Regions from separate parts of the Homo sapiens genome. Here region 2 is linked to region 1. Evidence: promoter capture Hi-C in 16 types of primary human blood cells and fetal thymus (Javierre and others, 2016). All regions are on one chromosome and are shown on one strand. The core of a region is centred on a gene start or on the middle of the fragment in contact, and the rest is flanking DNA. Distances in the headings are between cores, read along the strand shown. Region 1 holds the start of THAP5 (THAP domain containing 5). Region 2 overlaps LOC105375470 (a long non-coding RNA gene).

Evidence for each region. The method cuts DNA at HindIII sites, captures the fragments that hold promoters and counts their contacts. A CHiCAGO score of 5 or more calls a contact.
Region 2: a contact is called between a fragment that was not itself captured here and the fragment with the promoter of THAP5 in region 1, in 1 of 17 cell types (total CD4 T cells). The highest score is 8.7, in total CD4 T cells.

The regions. Positions count from the first base shown.
Region 1 is chr7:108,567,235-108,573,487 of GRCh38, reverse strand. THAP5 (THAP domain containing 5) reads left to right here and starts at 3,782. Exons shown (of 3, transcript NM_001130475.3): 1 at 3,782-3,998. The coding sequence starts at 3,919. It overlaps DNAJB9 (DnaJ heat shock protein family (Hsp40) member B9), which reads right to left and starts at 3,614. Exons shown (of 3, transcript NM_012328.3): 1 at 3,385-3,614; 2 at 1,545-1,771; 3 at 1-589. The coding sequence starts at 1,761. The coding sequence ends at 135. RefSeq lists enhancers at 3,459-4,186, 3,720-4,199. The HindIII fragment of the contact is 6,219 bases long and covers 1-4,725 here.
Region 2 is chr7:118,174,858-118,181,110 of GRCh38, reverse strand. All of the region lies in intron 1 of LOC105375470 (a long non-coding RNA gene), which reads left to right. Among named protein-coding and RNA genes, the nearest start is that of LSM8, 6.2 kb to the left of the region's middle. The HindIII fragment of the contact is 7,095 bases long and covers 176-6,253 here.

The DNA.
Region 1 (6,253 bases), core at 2,533-5,032:
ATATATTTAATAGCTATATCAAATTGTTTAAAGTGAAATCATGCACTTGTCAAAATAGTTCACAGAAAATTGTTTAGCATCAAAGATAATGAGGAAGAGTCAACCAGTTGGATTTAGTGAGAATAGAATAAGAACTACTGTCCTGAACAGTCAGTGTATGTAGTAACCATATTTCCTCTTCGTTGAGTGACAGTCCTGCAGTGCTTGCTAGATCCATGAAATCTATTTTCAGTCTGTACTGTATGCTGATTGGTAGAGTCAAAACCACTAAAAGAAAACATTTTCTCCATATCTTCAAACATGTCATCAAATAATCCACCTCCAAAAGAAAATTCTTGGAAATGATGCCTTTGTCTACTGGAACCACCATCCTGGCGTGTCTGGAAATGATTTTCAAAACGCTTCTTGGATCCAGTGTTTTGGTTTTGACCAAAAAAGCCAAAGTCTTTAAATAAGTCATCAAAATTGAAGTTAAATGACTGCTCAAAAGAACTTCCACTACCTCTTTGTCCTTTACCACTAGTAAAAGCACTGTGTCCAAGTGTATCATACTCTTTTCGTCTATTAGCATCTGAGAGTGTTTCATATGCTGAAAGTGACAAAAATATTTTTAGTAACTGAAGGTAAAATATTCAAAATTACATATATTCAAATCTCTTCAAGCAAGTGAACTGAATACTATTATTTTAGGGAAGAATTTCGCATCAGAAATAAAAGCAAAACACTACAAATATAAGCATCAAGTTAATCAAAATTATAAAATAAAGCAGAAACTGTCTTATTAACTGCTGAGTTATCAGCAGTTGGCACAATGCCATCTGCAATACTCAATAAAGTTATTAAATGTTACCATTACTACAAATAAACATGTGGGCAACAATCAGAGTTCTTTAATCTTCATATTATTCGTGTGAAATCATTAATTGTATTAAAAAATTAAACCATCAACTATAACCAATTAATAGGAATTAAGATTTTGCACCTCCTTACTAAAGTAAACTGTTTAATTCTAACTCCCTACTCAGTTACCTCCATCCAACAATAATTACTGAATGCTCAGCAGGTGCAATTTGTTTTAGAGCTAGTCTGAAGTCAAAATTTGTTCCAATTTTTTCTTTGAAGACAAATATGGCTTTGAAAAGCAGATCAAGTGAATAAAGCACTTTAGAGTCTAGTTTAATTTTTAAGTCTTTAATGTTTAAAATGTAAAATATTCTGTTTCATAAGTTAGTTGATAAGAATTTTGGGTACCTAAAATTCTTTTTTGTCATAGAAGCAACAGTGATCTTATAAATAATATAGAATAGATTTTCAATATTTTTAGATACGTATACCAATAAAATTATCTATTATTCTTTCATATATTTATTCAGGAATCAAAGCATCTGTGATAAGAAAATAATCTCAGAGAATCACCCAATATTTATACATAAATCCCACTCCACCTCCCATCTCCACAAAACCTTCAAATACAAACACTTCTTAGCTATCATTCTCCTTACTAGTTAATACCCATGACACTTCAGAGATTGTCATTTATTTACCTTCTGCAATCTCTCTGAATTTTGCTTCAGCATCCGGGCTCTTATTTTTGTCAGGGTGGTACTTCATGGCCAACTTGTGAAAGGCCTTCTTGATTTGGCGCTCTGATGCCGATTTTGGCACACCTAAGATATCATAGTAGCTTTTTGAGGCCAGAATTAATTCTGTTATCATTAAAATGCAGATTGCAAAGATGAAAATTGACTGGGGAGTAGCCATTTCTAATATCCTAAAACAGAAAAGAAAAAAAAATGTTATGGATGGAGCTAATCTTAAAACGTTTTTCTTTTAAAAGAAATCCAACACAAGGTAAACCTAATGCAGTATCAAAATAGTAAGCATACAGTATCTATTACCTGTCCACATGTAATTTCACTTTTAGTTTTATAACTCTCAAACTGGCTTAACCTTATTGAGAACAAAAATAATTCTTGGCTTTGTCTGTCTACTAATACTCTGGCCATACACAGAGGAGATAGAAAATTATCAATAACTGACTTTTAACCAGTTTATATTGAAGATTCATCATATGCAAGCATTGTAAGAAAAAAAAAGAAAACCAAATAATATAAGATCCCAACTTTCCTTTCAAGACTTCATATCCTGAAAGTAATAATGTATTTAACTTCACAGAAAAAAAAAACATTAAAAAAAAAAGGTGGCGCACCAAGGTAAATAGCCCAGTATATCTAAATTAGTATTATTAATCTCGCTCCAAAAATTCAGCTTTCATTTCAGCAGGTGAGCCAAGGACTGCAAATAGAGAATCTTAATATCACAATACTAATACTGACAATACAATAGAATGTTGTCTTTTTCCCAAATGTAAGATCCCAAATGTTTAACCAGGAAGCATGGCTAAATATTGTTTAAAACTCATGATGAACAGAATTTAAGATTTCTGCTAAAGCTGCCAGAAAAATGAACTTTGATAGTTTGTACTGTGGTTAAGGCAGATTCTTACTTTCACAAACTCAGTAGTTAAAATATTTCTTTTACCTTTAAACCATTAAAGAAATGTTAACTTAGAATTCTTGACAATATGTATTCAATGACTTGAGATTCAAAACGAAGGGATGGATCCTGTTTTTTGAATACGGGACCACCAGAGTCCTTAGTAACCTATAATGCCATAATAAGGCTGACGAAAAACACTACGGTTTGTGGAAATTGCCTGGCTTCCTCTCCAGCGGCCTTTCCTGAGAGTAATTAGCAGGCAGGTAGATTACTTATTTCCAGAGAGTTACTCGTAGTCACGGGTACCAAGAATCAAGAACCACTTCTCGGTTTAAGGAACACAACAGTGTGTCCCATGGACGCTGCGTCAACTGCAGGTTGCTCCCTAGTCAAAGGGCGGATCTAAAACTGACAGGGAGGCGCCTCACTGGTTCAGCAGACGTTATTCCACGGTCTCAAGGTGGACATCTAATGATTTTTTTTTAGCAGACTAGTTTTGTATTGTACAGACTTCTCATCCCCAAGACGGCCCCGCCAGCCAGCAGCCCGTGCCTTATTCCCCAGCCTCGGTGGGCGGCTGGGCTAGACCCTCCAACCTTCACCTAAAGGCGACTGGCACTTTCCCTGCCCGCCCAGGCCCCGCCGCAGAAGCTGCCCGAGACCCGGGCTCTAATCCGGCGCCCGTGAAAGCCGGCGCCACAACCCAAAACACGATTCTGTGATGCGGCTGTCTCCGTTCTTCCATTCTCTCGGCCAAAAACATGCAGCCCATTGTCCCTGCGGCGACCGTGGCGGACACCGAGGCCAAGTCAGCTCACAAAGACAGGCCTGGGCTACGGGGACCCTCCGAACTCCCCTCCCCACGACCCCGGCCTCGTCCCTCACCTGCACCCTCCGACTACTGCTGCTCCTCCACAGAGCTGAGGCGCTGGCGACCCTGACGATCGGCTCGGGTCGGCAGCTTGGGCCCGGCCCCTCACCGCGGCCTCCCGGAGCTGGCACGCACCCTAATCTCGGTCGTACACCGACCTAGCGCTCCTCCTTCCCCGCCGGCGCCCAGTCCCCTCTCAGCCAGCTCCTCACAGGCAGGAGGTAGCCGCTGGCGCCACCACCTCAGAAGACCTACACGAAACGCTTCCCCATTGGCTTCTGCCTCCCCACGTGATCCCGGCGCCCTACGCGCACGTGGAAAACTGTTGTTGCTGCTAGGGCTGTGCGCCACTTCCGGCTTCAACCCCCGAAAAGGCGGTGCTTAAACCGGAGGAGGCGGAAGTGAGTCGACAGACGAGGCGGCTTTCCCGGCAGAATGCTAGCGCAGGCGCAGGGGCTCGAGAGGCCTGGACCTGTGGCGCATCCTCAGTGAGGAGGGCCGCCCTGCATCCGTCGCCGGCCCCGGTCTCCAGGGGCCTCACCCGAGTCATGCCCCGCTATTGCGCAGCGATTTGTTGTAAGAACCGCCGGGGACGAAACAATAAAGACCGGAAGCTGAGTTTTTATCCGTAAGTTGTTTCTGGAGCAGAAGCGTCAGCCTCGCCGTGAGGCCTTGGACCTGTGGCCTTTGGGCTTGGGTGTCTCCTGTCCGCTCTGCCAGTGAGTCCTCAGCTCTCCGTACGTGGCCCGTCGCCCGCGGCAAGACGGAGGGAAGGCGCTAGTTCAGTTTAGCTAGCAATGCCCTTCTTGCGCGAGGACTGCTGGCTGGTGGCGAGGCCCAGGAGCCTGTTTGGGTGTTAACAGTTAAAACAGTAAAGTTTGCGCGGGCTTCTGTGGTTTTCAGTCTTTTCCCCACTTCACGTGATCTCATTTCATTGAACAACATTAACCACCATTTAAGATACGTGAAACCTGCGAAGTGGAAAGGTGCACGCAAAGTTAATTTACACCCCCCGCGAGGTAGGTCGCATAGGTATAATTTCATCCCACTTTTCTCCTGAGGAAACTGAGGCCCGGAATGATTAGGTAACCGACCTTGAAAGTTTAGTGTCAGAGCCAGAATTATAAACTAGTCTTCTGCTTAGGGCTGTAGATACTCTGCGGAGAACAAGGTTTTATTCTGTTACTCTGAATTACTAGAGCCACGATATATTTCCATCAAACTACTGAAGCACTGATTTTTATTCAGAAGTACAGACAAGCAGTGTCGTATAATAATTAGGGGTCCAGGCTTCAATGCTAGATCCTGGTTCCACTATTCTGTAGCTTAATGACCTCTTGGAAAGTATTTAAGCTTTGGTGTCTCACATATCTCATCTGTAACATGGAGATGTTAATAGTACTCACATGATTAATAACACATGAAAAGCAACATATTTAAAATACTGCATTTCCATTTTTTCTTGTATTTAAAAACAATTCATTTAGATCTAACCTGGTTCAGATTTTCAGCAGTTGTTTTGTGCTCATTTTACTTTAGACCTGAAGGACTTATTCATTAATGATTCGGCTGCTTTCCAGTATTTTAATTAATGGAAAAAAAATTGATAACCCCACCAGGCGCGGTGGCTCACGCCTGTAATCCCAGCACTTTGGGAGGCTGAGGCGGGCAGATCACCTGAGGTCGGCAGTCTGAGACCAGCCTGACCAACATGGAGAAACCCCGTCTGTACTAAAAATACAAAATTAGCTGCGCGTGGCGGCGCATGCCTGTGATCTCAGCTGCTCGGGAGGCTGAGGCAGGTGAATCGCTTGAACCTGGGAGGTGGAGGTTGAGGTGAGCCGAGATCACACCATTGCACCACAGCCTGAGCAACAAGAGCGAAACTCCGTCTCAAAAGAAAAAAAAACTGATAACCCCAAGTAATTCACAATCCATGGCAATATTTCCAGGATTGTCTCCCTTGAAGCCCAGCCTCAAGATGCAAAGAGATGTTTGGGGGAGGAAAACAATCTAATCCACTTTCAGTTTATAGGGAAATACTACTGTACTAATGGCTCTATCTCTGAGAATGTTTGTAGCAAAAGATCATGTTGAACTTGATTTAACCCCGTATTTCCCAGATTTATTTGGCCTTTGATATTGGAGATGGGGTATAACCCCACACTGAAATTTTTAACTAAACTTTGTGGACCTTACAGTAACTTTTTAGGAAGGAAAAAATAATGCAAGTGAATTGTAAAGATTTTTTTCACTGAAAATGTGAATTTAGTAAAAGTTGTATTATTTCTAGGGTTTTTAAAAAATTTTCTTGTGTAATCCACAAAATAAAAATTGAATTAGTTTTATTCTCCAGTAGCGTCAAACTTGAATTGAATTTGCTCATGTTAACACTACAGCAAACTGTAGTTTAAATGTATATGAATTTGGGAATTCAGTTAATATAGTGTCCAGTTTGTACTGTGATTATCTTATGCCTTTTGGGGAATTACATAAGACAATGAAACAAAATTATCAAATGAATTGAACCAATATAAAGACATAATTTATTCAGGAAACATGATCAAGATTTCTTAGAGATTTACCTATTGAAGCAATACAATCCAGTAAACAATAAGGATATTCACAAAGTTTTTTTTAATGAGTTGATAACTTAGCATATAGGTACAATGGAAATAATTTGCAAACAGCATCCATATACATGAATTTACAGTAAAAAGCATTATTGTAAAAGGCCTATTCTCATTTCAGTTGTAACAAAAGAAATGAATTTACCAATGGCCAGAAGAAGTCAGGTCCTCTAAAAGAAAATTTGTCTGCCTTTAAAATTCCTTTTCTGGTTATGCTTGTCATACTTACAACCTAATATTTGTAAAGTTAAAA
Region 2 (6,253 bases), core at 2,474-4,973, 9.6 Mb before region 1:
TCTGTGCCTGTTTCCCCATCTGTAAAATGAGGAAAACTACACAAAACTACATCTAATTGTTGAGGAACTAAAAGTAATACTTGAAGAGCCTGATATATAATGAGTACTCATTGTTATTCAAGGACATAGACTATACCATAAATAACCTTTTTTTTTTTTTTAAAGTCCCAAAGCTTATTCCAATACGGTGTTTTGTTCATGGCCATTTTTTATGATTGGATAGATTCAGCTGTGCACATTTTAAGTGCTTAAGGAAGGGAAAGATGGATATGAGTTCAAATCTTGGGAGGTTTTACAAAACAGGTAAGACTTAAATCAGTGCTTGAGAAGAAGTGCAAATACACTTTAGGAAAATGACCTGACATTAATTTTTTTTTTTTTTTTTTGAGATGGAGTCTCGTTTTGTTACCCAGGCTGGAGTGCAGTGGTGCGATCTAGGCTCACTGCAACCTCTGCCTCCCGGGTTCAAGCGATTCTCCTGCCTCAGACTCCCGAGTAGCTGGGATTACAGACATGCACCACCACGTTTGGCTAATTTTTGTATTTTTAGTAGAGACGGGGTTTCACCATGTTGGCCAGGCTGGTCTCAAAATCCCAACCTCAGGTGATCCGCCCACGTCGGCCTCCCAAAGTGCTGGGATTACAGGCGTGAATCATCACGCTTGGTCCTGACATTAATATTTAGCGGAGGTAAAAACTGAAGATAAAAAGGCCAGCAGGAGTTCAGATATGCGTTTCTGATTTGTAGCAGTAAGAATGGAGAGGCATATTCTGTGCTCACAGAGGTTAATAAGTAATAAAAGAATGGAGAGGCAGAAAAAAAGTGATTTGAAGACAGAGCTTAAGAAAGGTGATGAGGCCAGACCCAGTGGCTCACGTGTAATTTCAGCACTATGGGAGCCTGAGGTAGGAAGATTGCTTGAGTCCAGGAGTTTGAGGCTAGCCTGGGCAAAATGGCAAAACCCCATCTCCACCAAAAAAAAAAAAAATTAGCTGAGCATGGTGTCATGCACATGTAGTGCCAGCTACTTGGGAGGCTGAGGCAGGAGGATAGCTTGAGCCAGGGAGGTTGAGGCTGCAGAGAGCCATGTTGGAGCTACTGCCCTCCAGCTTGAGCAATAGAGTGAAACCCTATCTAAAAATGGAAAAGAAAAGAAATGAGGCAGACAGCAAATCCTAGGTGGCATAGTAATGGTGGTTGGTGAATCAGAGGTTAGCAAGATTAGGGAGACACAGGAAAAGGCAAGACTGCTTGTTAACAAAGTAGATGGGGCCAATCTGTAGAACTGTGTAAACATGATACACTTTGCTCACTAGCCAATGGCAAGGCCACGGAACATACTGGTGATACTTACACGGGCATATACTTTACCTTAAAGATCTGGAGAACCGGTATATCTCAGGAGGCCCTCTGTTTCACCTCATAAGGGGCAATATATATTAATAAAATACTTACGTATGCTTTTATGCATTCTTTATGGTATTTTTAAAATTGATTTTTATTATTAAAATTTTTAGACCAGGTGCAGTGGCTCACACCTGTATTCCCAGCACTTTGGGAGGCCAAGGTGGGCAGATTGCTTGAGCCCAGGAGGTTAAGACCAACCTGGGAAACATGGGGAAAAACCCATCTCTACTAAAAATACAAAAATTAGCTGTGCATGGTGGCCCACACCTGTATTCACAGCTACTTGGAAGTCTGCAGTGGGAGGATCACTTAAGCCCAGTGAGCCGTGATCATGCTACTGCACTCCAGTCTGGGCGACAGACTGAGACTGGTCTCAAAAAAAAAAAAAGAAAAAAAATTTTTTTTTTTTTACCAGCCATTTTTTACTCCCCAAATCCTGCTCTCCCTTTACATTATTTTTATTTTGGAAACTGGGCTGCTATAACAAAATACATTAGACTTGGTAATTTATAAACAACAAAAATTTATTTTTTACAGTTCTGGAGGCTGAGAAATCCAAGATCAAAGCAACAGTAGACTCTGTGTCTGATGAGGGCCTGTTCCTTATAGATGACACTTTCTTGCTGCATCCTCACATGGCAGAAGGGGGCAAGGCTGCTCCGTTCAACCTCTTCAGTAAGGGCACTAATCCTGTTCATGAGGGCAGAGTCCTTATGACTTACTTCCCAAAAGACCCCATCTCTTAATGCTATCATATTGGATATTAGGTTCCAACATATGAATTTTGGAGGACACCAGTATCCAGACCACAGCAGAAGCCAAAAAATGACAAAACATTCTGGCTATAATATGCTGTGTATAATACATTCCTGAAAATCTTCACATTTTAAGAAAATGGCTCACTTAAAATAAGAGCCTAAGGAAAAAATAAGTCTGGGAAAGCCCTCTCAAACTCTGAACAACTGAGCGGTGGTTCCCAAACTTTGCTACTTACTGATATGATCTTTAAAAACTGATAGCTGGCTCCCACACTCAAGACATTCTGAGTTAAATAGAATGAGGTTCAGCTGGGCCTCAGTATTCTAAAACATCCGTAGTTAACTAATAAACAACAAAGTCTGGCAACCACTGAACTGTAGTATTAACAGACAATAACAACCGAAATGAAAATAGTAGTTCATTTAGAAGGACGTGTAAAACTCCTAACAAATAAAGCAATGTTATATTAACTTAAAGAGTTTTACCTTTTTAAAAAAGTTGAAGGTTGCTTAAAGAATGACAGTTTACAGAAGGGTAGACACTGATGAGTGATGGAAACAAGGGCGGGAGATCATCAGAAGTAGCAGATGGAGAAGCAGTTGCAAACTTTGCAGGAAATGTGGAGTTGCCAGAGATGGATGGCTCTGACTCGTTGTCTGATGTCGCTTTTGCCCAAAGATGTGAGGGAGCTGCAAAATAAGCACTATCAAAATGGAGCATATGGCTGAACCAAGCCCAGGGAAGAATGGGGTCCCACACCGTGAAAGGTCATCATTTGAGTGCTATACTCCCCCAGGCCTGGTTCAATCACAAAACTAAGTGCAATAATTGTACTTCAGCTATTGTGTCTTTGTACTACAAAGCATTAAAGTGCTATGAAAAATTATGTATGAACCAACCCACTTTCCCTATTATTCTAACATTACTCTCCTGTTTAACAATCTCATGTGACCTCATGTGTACTATAAAAAACAGTACTCGGCTGGGTGTAGTGGCTCATGCCTTTAACCCCAGCACTTTGGAAGGCCAAGGCAGGCAGATTACTTGAGCTCAGGAGTTCCAGACCAGCCTGGGCAATGTGGTGAAATCCTGTCACTACAAAAAATTAGCCAGGCGTGATGATGCGCACCTGTAGTCCCAGCTACTCAGGAGGCTGAAGTGGGAGGATTCCTTGAGACCAGGAGGCAAAGATTGCAGTAAGCCAAGATCTTCTCACTGCACTCCAGCCTGGGTGATAGAGCTAGACCCTGTCTCAAAAATAAAAAATAAAAAAGACAATACTGTAACATAACAGACTATGTTAGTATTCCACTGAGAATCTGGAGTTTAAATAATGTCATCCTGCCCCTGTTTTACTTATCTCCTTCTGTGGTTCATACTGTCCTTTAGCACCAAGTAATTCTTTAGGTAGGCAGTTCTTCCACCTCTGACTTTGCCCTAGAAGGGTACTTGAATTCGTATAACTTGGGCAGCTTTATTTAAATAGCACATACAGCATATGACTAATCCAAATGGAGCACCCATACCTGATCATTTTTCAATATCTTTTTTTAAAAAATAAATTACCATGTATGTGTTATCACTATAGTGAACCAGATTAGGGAACTTTATTTTAAGCTGAGTACATTTGCTTTCTTTTTTATTGTTTTGCTTGGCTTTTAAAAATTGTCTTTAGCAGCTTGGATTGCAATACAGGTAAAATTATACTGTCATTTCCATTGAATTTTTTGCATGCCAAAATTGGAAAATAATATTGATATCAGAAATTACTTAGGTCACTAGGATCTTCAGTCTGAATTCATTCCTTAATGTTATAATCCACACAGAAGGAACAGATTGATTTGGACTTGTTGCAGACATTGTATGGCAAGGTAGAGCAATGCTAATTTATTGATTTTTTTTTTTTGGAGAAAAATACTGAGGTTAGGCAATGAGAGATGAATAATGTAAGAAGGTATATAGAAATGTAAATGGAATAGTGAGAGTGAAGTATAAGAATTACATTGACAAAAGCTAAACATAAATAACCTTGAGTGACCAATAGAAAGCAAATGCCTGAAATTACATTAAAACACATGGGGAGCAAATAAGGGTTGAAAATTACTTATTGGGTACAATGCTCACTACTCAGGTGATGGGTGCACTAAAAGCCCAGATTTCATATATGCATGTAAGAAAGCTGCACTTGTACCCCCTAAATATTAAAAAAAAATTTTAAATTAAAAACATATGGGGCAGAAAAAAATCAAGGCTTTCCCTTATTTTTGATAAATTCTCATTATATAAGTTTTGTTTCATTTTTGTAACAAATCAGAATGACTCTCCCACTTCCACCCTTTTTCTTTCAGACTATGGATCACAGATATTTAGAGCTAAAAGGGAACCTAAGAATTTTCAAATTTACATTCTGTGTCATGTGGATTAGGAAACTGAATCCCAAATAAGTTCATTGACTCTTTTAGGGTTACATAGTAGAACCTACAATCAAGGCCTCCTGGATTCTAGTTCAGTGCTTCTTACAATAGTTAATAATAAAAGTAACTGTTCTACTTGAAGGACAAAATTTTGAGTTTATATGTACATATGATCAGCGCATATCCATGGATACGTCATTGCTATTGTATGTAGACTTTTTCGGAAATCAGAAGGAATATGTATACCTTTGAGTCCAAATACTCAAAGGCAGGTTGACATTTTTCAGATGTCACTACCAATGGGAAGAATAGGAAAGGCAACTAAGATATTGTGGAAGGTAGAATAATCTCTCCTACCCCCCCAACCCCCAAAGATGTCCACATCCTAATCCCTGGGAACTGTGATTGTTACTTTACATGTCAAACAGCACTTTTCAAATGTGATTGAAGGTAAGGACCTCGAGATGGTGAGGTTATTCTGGATTACTCAGCTGGCCCCCTCTAATCATGAGTCCTTAAATGCGGAAGAGGGAATCAGAAGAGTGGGTCTGAGAGATGTGACATGAAAAGACTTGTCCTGCTGTTGATGGGCTTTGAAGTTGGAGGAAGAGGGCCATGAGCCAAGAAATGTGGTTATCTTTAGAAGCTGAGAACAGCTCTTAGTTTATAGCCAGCAAGAAAACAGGGACCTTGGTCCTACAACAGCAAGAAACTGAATTCTGCCAAAATCTAAGTGAGCAGGAAATGGATTCTTCCCTACAGCCTCCTTCTGGAGGCATACATTCTACTAACACCTTGATTTAAGTCCAGTCAGACCCATATCAGACTTACAGAACTGTAAGTTAATAAAGTTTTGTTGTTTTAAGCCACTAAGTTTGTGGCGATTTGTTATGGAAGGAATACAAAGTGATACAGATATGCAACCTCTTAATTTATTGTCTTCCTGGATAAAAGTAAAGTGTCTATACTGTACATAGGAGGTTTTGAACATTTTTTATTCATTCTAAGCAACTTAAGTACTATTGCTCATGGCCATCTTTTTCTGTGGCACAAAGTCTTTGTAAATTCTAAACTTCTACCCAGAATTTCCTCTGTGGTGACATTAAGTAAAAGGTGAGTTTCTTCAAAGTATTATTTAATATATTTGTGTGTTTTTCTCATTATACTGTCATTCTTATAAAGTGGATGCTCCACTGTCATGACAAGTAGTGGTACATGTTCAGTCTTTACATAAATCTTAAGTCATCTTCGTCAAGTACCTACTGTGTTCCACACCTCTGTTACTCCAGTGGTTTCTGCTCTTTTTTTCTCTAGGTTTTGTTTCTTGCCCGAACTCATTTTGTTGGTAATTAACAGAGCCAGTCTTTAAACCTAGACAGTCAAGCTCCAATGTGCTGCACTGCCATTGAGATTGTTGCCCAGGAAAAATTCACAGTAGTGTCAAGAAATAACCAACATATATAGACAGAGGATCACTTAAGGTTATTCAGATTTGAGTAGTTGTGACTGTTTCCTCAGATTCCTGGGCCTAACTCTTTACAAAGAGGAAGAGACAGATTCAACACTTTTCTGCCTCTGTGGCATTTTTTCCATTTCTTCAATATTAAGTATCTGTATCATTACTATTTTCTCTAACAGGGGTTGGCAAACTACAAACCTTGGGGAAATCATT